Linked DNA regions of Homo sapiens: region 2 is linked to region 1. Evidence: promoter capture Hi-C in human tissues and cell types (Jung and others, 2019). All regions are on one chromosome and are shown on one strand. Each heading gives the region's core, a stretch centred on a gene start or on the middle of the fragment in contact. The rest is flanking DNA. Distances are from core to core; before and after follow the strand shown. Region 1 holds the start of ARAP3 (ArfGAP with RhoGAP domain, ankyrin repeat and PH domain 3). Region 2 has its middle 26 kb from the start of LINC01844.

Region 1 (6,076 bases), core at 2,574-5,073:
CCGGGGCACTCTTCCCCAGTTATCTTCATGGCTAACTCCTTCACCTCCTTCAAGTTTTTGATCAAATGTCATCTTCTTAACGCTCCGCTAACTGTAAATGAAAAATTGCAGTCCACCCATTTTGCCCCCAAGCCCTCTTTTTTTTTTTCTTAGTCACTGCTACCTCCACCTCTCCGGTTCAAGCAATTCTCCTTCCTCAGCCTCCTAACTAGCTGGGATTATAGGCGTCCACCACCGCACCTGGCTAATTTTTGTATTTTTAGTAGAGACGGAGTTTCATCCTGTTGGCCAGGCTGGTCTCAAACTCCTGACCTCAGGTGATCCGTCTGCCTCAGCCTCCCAAAGTGCTGGGATTACAGGTGTGAGCCACCATGCCCGGCCAACCCCCCAGCCCTCTTACTCTGCTCTATTTTTTCCATGGCACTTAATACCTTTTAACGTTCTATAGTATTTAATGTATTATGTTTATTGTTAATAGACTATCTCCCCACAAGGGCAGGGATTTCTGTGTACGCTGATCTATCCCAAGCATCTACATCCGGTGCATGATAGTTGCTCAATAAATATTTGTTGAATGAAAAAATGAAAAGCACTTCTCCTGGTTGGGCACAGTGGCTCATGCCTGTAATCCCAGCACTTTGGGAGGCCAAGGAGGTAGGATCACCTGAGGTCAGGAGTTCGAGACCAGCCTGGCCAACATGGCGAAACCCCATCTCTACTAAAAATATAAAAATTAGCCGGGCATGGTGGCACGCACCTGTAATCCCAGCTACTCGGGAGCCTGAGACAGGAGAATCGCTTGAACCCAGGAGGGGGAGGTTGCAGTGAGCCGAGATTGTGCCACTGCACTCCAATCTGGGCAACAAGGCAAGACTCCGTCTCAAAAAGAAAGAAAGAAAGAAAAGCACTTCTCCCAATTTTCCATTATATGACCATTGGTTTGTCTACTTGTTTTATTCCCTGTCTGTCCCACTGAGTCACAAGCTGCCTGAGGGTGGCACTAGGTCTGTGATACTCATCCTGTATCTTGAGTGCCTGGCTGGTGAATACTCAATGCACATTTGTTGAATAACTGGATACATGGCCGCCACCGACTCACCTGCTCCTCCCTCCCACCACTTCCCTATTTAGTACTCACCTGTGTTCAGCCCTGCCCTGACAAACACCTCTGCTCTCTCTTCTGTCGGGGGCTCCTGGAGTCCCCACAGGTTGGACACCATAGTACAGGCAACCAGGATCCATGATGTGCACTGGCAGGAGGAGAGGGGAACGCACAAGGAAGAGGAGATCGCTGGGAGTGTATGAGGTCCTGCCGGCACTATCCCTCTCCCCCAACCCGTGATAACCCAGTTACCTGTGCCTGTTGTGGGCCTGAGGGCAGGGGTGGGGGCAGAGATTTGGGAGCTGTCTGGGGCCCTGAAGGGAAAGGTCTATTGGTTACTTAAGGAGAGAGGAGGAAGAACAAGCCTTCATGCCCTGCTCCCCGCCTCCGTCCCCCTCATGCTCTCCTCCCCACTCCTCCCAGCATCAGTCCCTAGGGAGCCAACTCCACTCACTTGTCCTGAGCTGCCTGTGCCCTGCCTCTTGAGTCCAGGCCGAAGTAGATGGAATTAGGCATCATCTCCACAGTATTTAGGGCTGAAGACTGCTCAGAGGAGGAAGTGGGGAGAGGAGGAGGCCTTGGGCTGGGCTCTGGGCTCCTGGACACTCCTGGTCCCCCGAGGGCTGGGCTCAGCCCAGGTCTCTGAGTGGTGGCAGGGCCACTGAGTCCACCAAACACGGTCCTGGGCTTCGGCACGGGCTTAGGGGGCTGGGCTTGCGGGGCTGGGCTGGGGGATGGTTCCATGGCACTATCTGATTTGGGATCCAGGGAGCCCTCTTCGGTGCCTGTCTGTAGCAGGCGTAGAATGCGTTTCCGGTGCCCTGTGGCGCTGATGCCCAACTGCTTCAACTCCTCGTGGCCCAGGCCCCGGGCTGCACCTGCTGTAGCCAGGCCATGCCGTCGGAACGTGTCTGCATACTGCTCCAGGTGCACCGTGGCCAGCCACACAGCGATGTCCAGGTCCTGAGGGGCAGCCATGGGGGCTCAGGCCATTGCTGGGGGGAGGGGCAGGGTGAAGGGAGGGCTCAGGCTGAGAATCCCCCTCTCTGCCCCAGAGTCTGAGGCCTGGACAGTGAGCACCAGCCTCCAATCTTCCTCCAAAGAAAGATGCTGAAAGGCCTGCGATCTGGAAGCAGAGCCATCCCAGAACAACAGCAATGGCTCTCTACTTAGGGAAGGGACTTCATTTGAAGTTAAGGAAACTGAGGCCCAGAGAGGGGAAGGGGCTTGCCCCAGGTTCACAGTAAGTCAGTGCTAGAGTTGGCCCCTCAGTTCCTGCCCACCCTGGGTCTGGGTCAAAGCTCTGCTCCTGCCTGACTGCACATCCAACTGAGTAAGCATGGGACAAGATGCTAGAATGCTGTGGGTCAGAGTGGGATAGGGAGATGCAGAGGAGGGGCCAATGATGTGGCCAATCAGCTCTGGAGTAAGGTAGGGAGAGGGGCAGCCTAGATAGGAGGAAGGAGGTGCAGACGCCCCCTCCCTCTTGTTTCCAGAGCCGATGTATGCAGGCCTGCCGTCCTAATCCTGGTTGTTCCCAGTCCCTCCTCCCCTTCCACCTATTGTCTCTGCTCAGACTTCCTTCCTGTCCCTCCAGCCCTGGCCGCCTCCACATCCTGCCTGCTTTGGTCAGGCTGCCGGGAGAGCCCTAACCAGTCCTAATGTGTGGGGTCCCGGCCCTGGGTGGAGGCTAATTGAAGAATAAGGATGGGGATGCCAGAGAGATGAGGCCTGACCTCTGGTCAGGGGTACTCCAGAGGCTTCTGGACTCTCTGCCCACCGGCAGCATGTTCACATGCTGTTCACCTGTGTGTGCACATGCCCTGTAGCGATTTGGCAGTGTGAAATGCCATCCCCCCACCTCTGCTTTCTCCAAGCCTTCCTTTTCTGAGCTTGCCTTTTCCCTGCTCATTCCCTTGGGCTCAGGTCTCTGTGCTCTGTCCCCCTTCCACCAGCCTGACCCCGACCCTGACCCTGGTCTATTTCATAGACCTGTCTCTAATTCTGTGGCCCCTGAGTTTTATCTCTGCCTTGTCACTGTCCCTGCCCCATTCCATCTCAACCTCTCAATTCTTCTTTGTCCCTCTCCTTGTCCCACCCTGTTTTGCTCTCTGTTATTAAGCTTGTCCTTGACTCAGTCTACAATTCTAACCAGATCTTGAGTTGTATCTGTGTCTCTGTCTGCCTCTGAGCCTGGGTTTCTGTCTTCCGCCTCGGCCTAGGCTCTCTCCCTGTTACTCTTGTGCTCTGTCGGTGACCAGGACGCCCTCTCCGTCCCAGCATCACTGCTGGCCTCCCTCTGCCTCTCTCCAGCTGGGCCTCATTCCCAAGCCAGGGCCCGCGTGCTGAGCCTCGGGCCCTGACTCAGGGCCCGGTTTCCCGGTGACTCAGGCCGGGCTCGACAGCACGGGGCTGGGAGCTGAGGTGCTCGCGGGACAGGAGTGGCGGGGGCGGGGCGGGCAGTGGCGGGCAGCGCAGGCTGCGACGAGGGAGGGGGCGAGGAGGGATGGGGCAGAGGCCGGGCAGCAGGAGGGAGGGGCGGGTCGTGGCAGGGATGGGGAGGGCCGCCGGCGCCGAGGGGGCCTGGGAGCCCACGAAGGCCCTCGAGAAGGTGATGGGGAGGAGTCTGGGAAGCAGGGACCCGGGGGGCGCGGGGGTCCTCACCTCACTACGCGGCCGCCGTCCGCTCGCGGGTGCCCGCCGCTCGTCCGAGGTTCTGGGTCCCGCCGCGCCGGCCCCGCCTCCCCTCTGCCCTCCCTCGACGGGCCCAGCCCCGCCCCGCCCGGCCGGTTCCCTCCGCGGGGCCCCGGCCACTCCTTGTGCAAGCGCAGGCCTCCAAAGGGTTTGGGCTTCTTGCCCAACCGCCGCGCTTATCTCCGAGTCTGCCCCCAGTCTGCCCTCTCGCAGGCCGAGAAAGGACCAGAACACGTTGGGACGAAGACAACCTCAGGGAGAGGGACAAAGAGGCAGAGACCGGGACGGAGACTGGGACGGAGGTAGAAACTGAGAAAGGGAGAGTGCCAGGGACGGCTTTGCATCCTCTCCGCTGCTCCCATGCCCTCCAGTCCTGCCAAAAGGGAGGAGGAAAGGTCGAGCCCTAATCCCCCAGGGCACCTCTCCCACGCCCGGAAGGGTGGCTGGACCCTGGCAACCAGTTTAGTGTGGGGACGGAAGCTGGACATCCAGAATTGAGACTTGGCCTGGGCAACAAGCGCAGAGGCCCAGCAGAGGGGTACCCGTCTGTTTCTCCCCACTTCCATCCCCAAGGGCCCGGCCTAGGTTCCTTCGAGGGATGAAGGTCCGCAAGGCACATCCCTACTTCCAAACCAAGGTTTGGGGCTGCCTTTTTGGGACAGGCGGACGCCCTGCAAGCTCAGTGACCAAGCAAGCAGCTGTTTCATTCATGGGAGAAGCCGCCCCTTCTCCCCAACTCCCACCCTAAAATTTCAGGGGGGATGCCGGGGAGGCCTGAAGAGGAATGGCCCTTCTCTCCTTCGCTAATCTTGCCGGAACCCCGGTCCTGGAGCCTGTCTCCCAGGGGCGGAGGCACTTCCCTCTCTGAGCAGGACCAGTGTTTGGGTGTGGGGGGGGGGTGTTTGTGTGTGTGTGTGTGTGTGTGTGTGTGTGTGTGTGTGTGTGTGTGTGTGTGTATGTGTTGGGGGTGGCGGGGGCGCTGGCCGGCTGTGTTTTCCTGTTTGTATGAGAGGAAGTTGGCTGTGAGTCAGCAGACACAGGAACTGTCAGTAGCTAGGGGAAGACCCCTGCCTCAGGGGAAGAAGAGGGGAGTGGGAGGAAGTGGTTCCCACCTCTTCCAGCTGCCTCAGCTAGGGGAGGGACTGTCATCTTCAACCTACTGGAGCCCCACTTTCCCGGCCTTCCCTTTGAGAAAGAGAATTATAGTAATAAAATAATAATTGCAATAGCCATAATAAGGGCTACCAATTATTGAGAGCTGACCGTGCTCCAGGATCTATGTAAACATTGCTTTGCAAACTTTAATCCTCACAAATATCCCTACAAATAGGAAATTTTATCACCTCTATTTTACATATAAGGAGACAGGGAGCATTAAATAACTTGCTCAAGACTCTGCAGCTAGAAAATAGCCAACCCTCCAAGTCTATATCTATAACTACCATGCTCACCTACCACCCTGGACAGGACCCCTGCACCATGTCCTTTTTTTCAGATGGGCAACTGTGGTGGCAGTGAGAATGCTCCTCACAGATCTTACACTGTGAGGAGTGAAATTAACCAATGGCCCCAGCTGCTTCTCTCTGAAATCTAAGGCCAGCTTCCCACTGGGCTGCTCCCAGCCAGTGACAGAGCTCAGCAGAGATCTAAGGCAGACCCATTCCTGGGAGATAGGGGACTCCTTTGACAGCTGACTTTGGATCAAGATTTCCCAATGGCTTTGCTGAACTTTCCTTTGACTGGTGTTTTAGGATGCTCCTCTCAACCTTTATTCCTTCCCTCTCTCCTTCACAGCTCTCCTAGCTCCAGGCTCCCTTCCTCTCTCACAGGCATCTCCCCTAGTCAAATCCTTGCATTCTGCCTTGGCAGCTTCTTCTTTAAGGACTCAGACTAACCCAGCAAAATAAGGGAGCAGGAAAAGACAGTAAAGGGCACAGGGAGTTTTGAGGAATGGATGCCGGGGAGTTTGGGTCAGGGGCTAGATGCAAGAGTTCTGAACCTTTTTGTGCCATGTTCTCCTTTGGCAATACGGTAAAGTATGTGGTCTCATCTCAGAATAATATTTTAAAATGCATAAAATAAAATATATAGGATTGCAAAGGAAACCAATTATGTTGTAATACACATATAAAACCGATGTGATATAGTAATATATGTGCTTCTTTATTAATGCTTTAAATAAGATCTAGTGGTAGGTTGATACCTCACATAACTTTGATGCAGTGATGAGCATAAATGGTATTTCAAAAGATCTGCAATATTGTAATATGATATAAAAAT
Region 2 (6,076 bases), core at 2,294-4,793, 1.0 Mb after region 1:
AGGACCCAGTGTGGCAGCTGCGTGTCTCTGGAGCACTGGAGAGGGGGCTACTGCAAATTAAGATCTGCTGTAAAGGTAAGATACACACTAATTACAAAAACAAGAATGTAAAATATATCAGAGATTTAAAAAATATTGATTATATACTAAAAAGCGTCAGCACAGTAACTCACACGTACTAAGCACTCAGGATATGTAGTCTATTTTTTCTGTTGTTGTTTAAACCCAAAGAGCTGAGAGTTTATTATATGTCAGTGTCCTAGGTAAGACAATACTTGAAGATACCCTCACAGTCTGCCAAATGGAAGAGGAAAACATTCCCGCTTTTTAGAGAGGTGGTTCTCAAATGGGAGAATTTTGCCTCCCAGGGCCATCTGGTGATGTCTGAGACACATTTAACTATCGAAACCTGGGGGAAGTGGCTGCTACTGGCATCAAGTAGGTGGAGGCCAGGGATACTGCTAAAATCCTACAGTGTACAGGACAAACTACCCCCACAACAAAGAATTGCCACGTCAAAATGTCAATCGGACCCAGGTTGAGACATCCTGAATTAGTGGCTCTTGATCACTTACAGATGTGACTGATTAATAATCAAGCTCAGCGAGTGTGTGGTAGAAGGAGGATTACAAATGTTATCCAAAGAGGCATCTCCTGGCCAGCAGCCTTGGCGTCACCCAGAATTTACTAGAAGAGCAAATTCTCAGGCCTACCCCAATCCTACTGAGTCAGATCTCTGGGGGTGAAGCCCCTATATCTACATTTTCACAAGCCTTCCAGGTGATTCTAATACAAGCCAAACTTCTGAGAAGCGCCGCTCCACTGCCCCTGTGTCCTAGTTACCAACTCCTGCTCATTCCGGGCTGAGCAGTAGGTGGCAGTGAATCGCAGAACGGTATTTGGACGGCTGCTAAATGCTGAGAAGGGGCTGGCTTGCACCAGATTGGTTGGTGATGGAGCTGGTGACAATTGCTCCAGTGTTCTTACACTAGCCCACAGTTCATGATGCCAGCTTTCTCATCTCAGGAAAGTTCAGGGAACAAATCCAAACATGGTTCAAAGTCATTCTAAGGTCTCTTCTTAGTCACATGGTGTTTCCAAGGCTTTGAAATTGTTTACTTCTAACTCATGTTTTCAAAGTTGTATCCTTCAACAGAGAATTCTGTGAGTATCTGGGTTTGGACTATTCTCCTAAGACACCTTCCCACCCTATAAAATCCCAAAGTCATGAGTACAAATCATTTCTGCCATCCTTGGACACCTTTTGGGCAAAGTATTTGACCCATCTCATGCTGAATGGACCCTTGGCCCCTCCTCTGCAATGGACCAGATCCGGTGAATGGTGAACATCCTGTTTCCCTGGATCTTTTGTCAGGCAGATAAAATTCAATGTTTGGCAAACTTTGTTAAGGCTGAGAGTGAGGTCACTGCAGTTCAGGTTATTTTCTATCTGGGCCACAAGAGGACACCCTCCACTCAGCCATGAGCATCTATAGTCTCCATAAAGCTCCGAAGTGGGTTGAGTGATGTGCTGGATTATGAAGAGGGGACAGTCACCTGCTAGAGAGGGAGGGGATGTCACTTTCCTTCTGTAGAGTGGTGGGATGAAGTGGCTTTGGATCAGACCTCAGCCCTGAACTCTAGAGCTGGGTTGCTCGAAGTGTGGCTCCCCGACCAACCGTATCCCCGTCAACTGGGAAGTTGTTAGAAAAGCACATTCTGGGGTCCTAGCCCAGACCTGCTGAATCCGAAGCTCTGGGGGTGGAGCCCAGCAATCTCTGGTTTAACAAGACCCCTCCCCTCCCAGGTGATTTCCATGTGAGCTCTCGCTCGAGAACTGCTATTCTCTCCTCCAGAGCATCTTCCTGGTTATTCTCTGGGACGCAAAACCATGGTGGTATCTGATCTCATCACACTTCTGCCAGGAGGTGAAATCGAAGAGGCTACATTCTTGATGCTCAGTGTCTTCTTCAGGTCATTTGCCTGAGGACACCTGGGGATACTGAGGTCAGTCATTCTGCATGAACGTGTGCAGTCCCTGGGCTCAGCCCTGGGCCGAAGGCTCTGAGGGATGTAAGGGTCACTAAATAATAATTTGTCAGCCCTCACAGAGCTTCCAGTCCTCCATGAAATGCAGGGTTGCCGCCTGAAAACAGACCAAAGGGGGCACACGACATGGTTCTGACAGCATGGGTAAATACAAGGAAGCTGGGAGCCGTGCAATGCTGCACACGTCCCCTCCCCGGCTTCATCTCCCATTCCCTCCCACCCAGCTGCTGTTGCAGGGCCCCCTGCCTTCTTTTTCACTCTCAACAGCACACCCTCAGTTTGCCCTTGTTTTCATTTCCTTTTCCCCTTACCTCCCATACCTCTTTTCCAATCTCTCCCCCTCCCGTTCTGGTTTTGTTGTAAATCACAAAATTTCAGGAACAGGCCCAGCAAGGACAGAAGCCCCAAGGGGCAGGGGAAAAGGAGAGAAACTGCATAGATAAGAACAGGCTTCTTCTCAGAGTAAAGACTAAGAAGACACAGCCGTACTGTAATAGTAGTTACCCTTGTCCGAAGGGCAGTGCAAGCCTGGAAAAGGGAGACCACCCGTGGGCTAGGGAGTGGGGAAGAAGCTCATTAGGGTGTCTGGACACGAGCTAAACCTTCACAGGGCACGGGGACTTGGGAAAGCAGAGGGGACGGAGAGGCCATGCCAGCCCCATAGCAGGGAGGAGCTGGGGTGGGAGGGGGGCCGGGGGCAGCCTGGTGGGGAGGGAGGATGGATGGGGAGTCATAGGAAGTGAGGCAAGATGGGCTCCCAGATGGAGGAGGGAGCAGTTAAAGTCTGAGTTTTATGATAGATGTACCAAAGAGGTGTGATAGGTTCTGAGCAGAGGAAAACTGTGTATATTGTTATTGTGAAGACATCTTCTCTTCCTGAGGTCACAAACTCAAATGCCTATAGCATGAAGCAGGCCAGGTAAGAAGCTGGAGGGCCTGGAGGGGTCGCGTGAGCTGGAGAGCACGTGTCCACCCTGAAGTGGGCAGTGATACACAAATCCCGACAATTATTACCGGGGGCAAGTAGAAGCTGAGTTGCGAAGTCATCCAGTTTTTCGACAGAAATTGGATGTCTGGATTTCTTTCTCATAATGTAAAATTTCTTCATTTTTAAATAGGCAGCTCATTGAAAATTTAAAAAAATCTGTACACCTTTGGGTGGTAACTTCTGACCTGCATTTTAAAAAATTGGACCTGAGGGTTTGTACCATACTCTTAATCAAAAATATTATGACCATTGTTTCTTCTTAGTTTCCTCCCTCACCCCTTTCTAGTAAATCCATTTATTATGAACAAAAAATATGATAACATCCAAACATGAACAACGTACTGTTTTCAACACTGCACACGAATTATCTCATCCTCATACAACCCTGTAAGATTATCTACTCCCACTCTATAGATGAGAGAACTGAGGTACAGAGAGGGAAAACAACTTGCTCCAAATCTCACTAGTTTTAAGTGGGGGAGCCAAGACCGAAGCCCAGGTGGTCAGACTACAGGGTCGTGAGTTCAGCCTGTGTGTTATATCCTTCCCTATATTCTTTGGTGACCATATTTCAGTTGTGTTTTTCCCTCTTCCAAGTATGAGTGACATTTGTGAGGTTGTATTTTCCTTCTTGTGTTAAAATATTAGGTTCACTGTCTTTATTGCCCGTGCCCTGGTGCCTGAGGCCTGTGAGTCAGCTGTGCTCAGTCTAGCAAGCATCCATGGAGGACCCGCCGTGCGCCATGCATCGTGCTGGTGCCAGCTGTCCCATTTCATGAAACTCCATTTTAATAAAAGATACTGACAGATAGAAACCAAAAATTTCAACCTAATATGGGATGTTATGTTGAGACAAAGGCATCTTTGGTATGCACTGCGATCATATAATGGAGTCATAAATGTGGAGGAGGGGTGGGTCAGGGAAGACTTCCTGGGAGAAACGTCCTGGGGGCTAAGTCTCAAAGAACTCTGAGGAACACCAGGTTCAAGAGGCCAGGCATTAGAAGTCAGAGGGGTGCAGGGAAGGTCAGCAGAGTGGCGATAAGGCAGGAGGAAGGAGCCTGGGATGGTAGGGTTGAGCCTACCTGAGACAGCTGATGGATAGGAGGAAGGGACCAGTCAGAGGGGCTGGGGAATCATGACCTGACATTGTGTGTGTTGATTCAGTGTCTACACGCTCAGTGTCAGGCCATGGGGAAGACCCCACAGAGAGGGTAAGGCTTGTTGTTGAAGTGGATGGATGAGAGGCTCTACCCCTCATTATTTGTGGGGCCTTAGGCAGGCTGCTTTGCCTCTGGGAAGCTGAGTTTCCTCACCTGTGAAATGAACTCAAACTTATTCAGCTTAGTGAGTACTGAATAAGAAGATGCTGGTGCCAAGTCTAGCACAATGCCTGACCCCAGCAATCATTCAGACAATGTTTGCGATTACTATCATTTCTGACACTTAGTAAATGTTTACTGAAGGAGTGAAAGGGAGCAATGGCTTAGGTGACCCCAGCGGCACCCAATGCAGTTGGGAGATCAGATCATCAGCTAAGCTTAAGCCTGGCCCATGATTTCCACTTGTCTTACGAGGACTGGGAAATAAGGGTTACATTAGTTTGAGGGAGACTTCAGCTTTAATATAAATTCCAAGTGACGCCATCCAGTCCACCGGAGAAGCAGCCTGCCTCAACAGGCAAGTCTGACCACAGAGACTGCAGCTGAATCAGCCGTAACTCGGAGCTGAGGCTGATAATTTTCTGAGGCTTGTCTGCACGCCTGTGAATCTTGCGTTCCTGTAGGTTACATCATTCTGTCCAGGTGCAGACAGTCCTGCTGATGGAACACTCCCCGGCAGCTGCAGCAACCTGGCACCTGGCATGGAGGAGTCCATCTGGTGGTGATATGCAGCCACTCAGGACTCATGCCAGCCACGCCGGCTCCTGGATGACAGGCAGATATGGCTGCGGCTGCCTTGCTTACTCCCAAATAGCACAGAGCAGGACAGTCTTCCAGCCAGGTGGGTAGTTCCAGGAGGCCACATTCACCTTGGAGATTCCTACCATACTCAGGAAAAGAAAGAAAAGCTGCGTACAGTTCTTACAATCATGCTTGTCATTTCTGTAGTCCTTTTTGTTTAAGGATCTCAGCTGCTGGGGCACGTGCAAGTTTTCCTTCAGTTTCTGTGCCAGCAATAATGTGCCTTGATTTTCGGGCAGTTATAAGTGGCCAGAGAGAAAGGGGACCTTAAAAGTGTAAGCCTGGCTTATTTTTTCTGGAATGAGCTTTCTGCAGCAGTGGGTCCCAAACTCAGCACTGTGCTGGGCTTTTCTGGAGGAATATGACACACACAGGGCTGCCAATTCTGATTCAGTAGGTGTGTGGCCAGCCCCAAACACCTGCATTATTAACCAGCTCACGGGGTGGTCCCCTGACCGGCTGCCTCCAATCCCCTGAGGTACTTGTTAAAAATGCAGGTCCCTTGGCCATACCCCAGACCCACTATATAGACAGCTCTATCTAGGGTGTGGATGGATGGAGTTTCACTCTTGTCACCCAGGCTGGAGTGCAATGGCATGTTCTCGGCTCACCACAACCTCTGCCTCCCGGGTTCAAGCGATTCTCCTGCCTCAGCCTCCAGAGTAGCTGGGATTTCAGGCGCCTGCCACCATGCCTGGCTAATTTTTTTGTATTTTTAGTAGAAACGGGGTTTCACCACATTGGCCAGGCTGGTCTTGAACTCCTGACCTCATGATCCACCCGCCTCGGCCTCCCAAAATGTTGAGATTACAGGCGTGAGCCACCGCACCTGGCCAATGGCTTCCTTTTTAACAGGTGCATTTTGCCACAGGTCCCTCAGCGGCTCTTGAACACAGTCAAGTTTTAGAGCTGCTGCCGTATGTGATTCTGATGCACCGTATTTGACTACTACTCCAGAACAATTATGCTTGAATTTCTGTCTTGCAGACCCTAGATTTTTTTTCCCTGACTCAACTAGACTGTCCTCAGCAGCTGAGAGAAGTGTTGTTGGCCAACATAACACAAAAGAGGCAAA

The links. Contacts are between HindIII fragments. The study calls those that stand out against the background at their distance.
Region 2: a fragment that was not itself captured here is called in contact with the fragment with the promoter of ARAP3 in region 1 in 1 of the 25 tissues and cell types used here (neural progenitor cells).

The regions. Positions count from the first base shown.
Region 1 is chr5:141,678,407-141,684,482 of GRCh38, forward strand. It overlaps ARAP3 (ArfGAP with RhoGAP domain, ankyrin repeat and PH domain 3), which reads right to left and starts at 3,824. Exons shown (of 33, transcript NM_022481.6): 1 at 3,767-3,824; 2 at 1,557-2,097; 3 at 1,355-1,416; 4 at 1,139-1,250. The coding sequence starts at 2,080. RefSeq lists a silencer at 3,824-3,873. The HindIII fragment of the contact is 12,570 bases long and covers 1-6,076 here.
Region 2 is chr5:142,716,260-142,722,335 of GRCh38, forward strand. No RefSeq gene overlaps it. Among named protein-coding and RNA genes, the nearest start is that of LINC01844, 26 kb to the right of the region's middle. The HindIII fragment of the contact is 3,753 bases long and covers 1,668-5,420 here.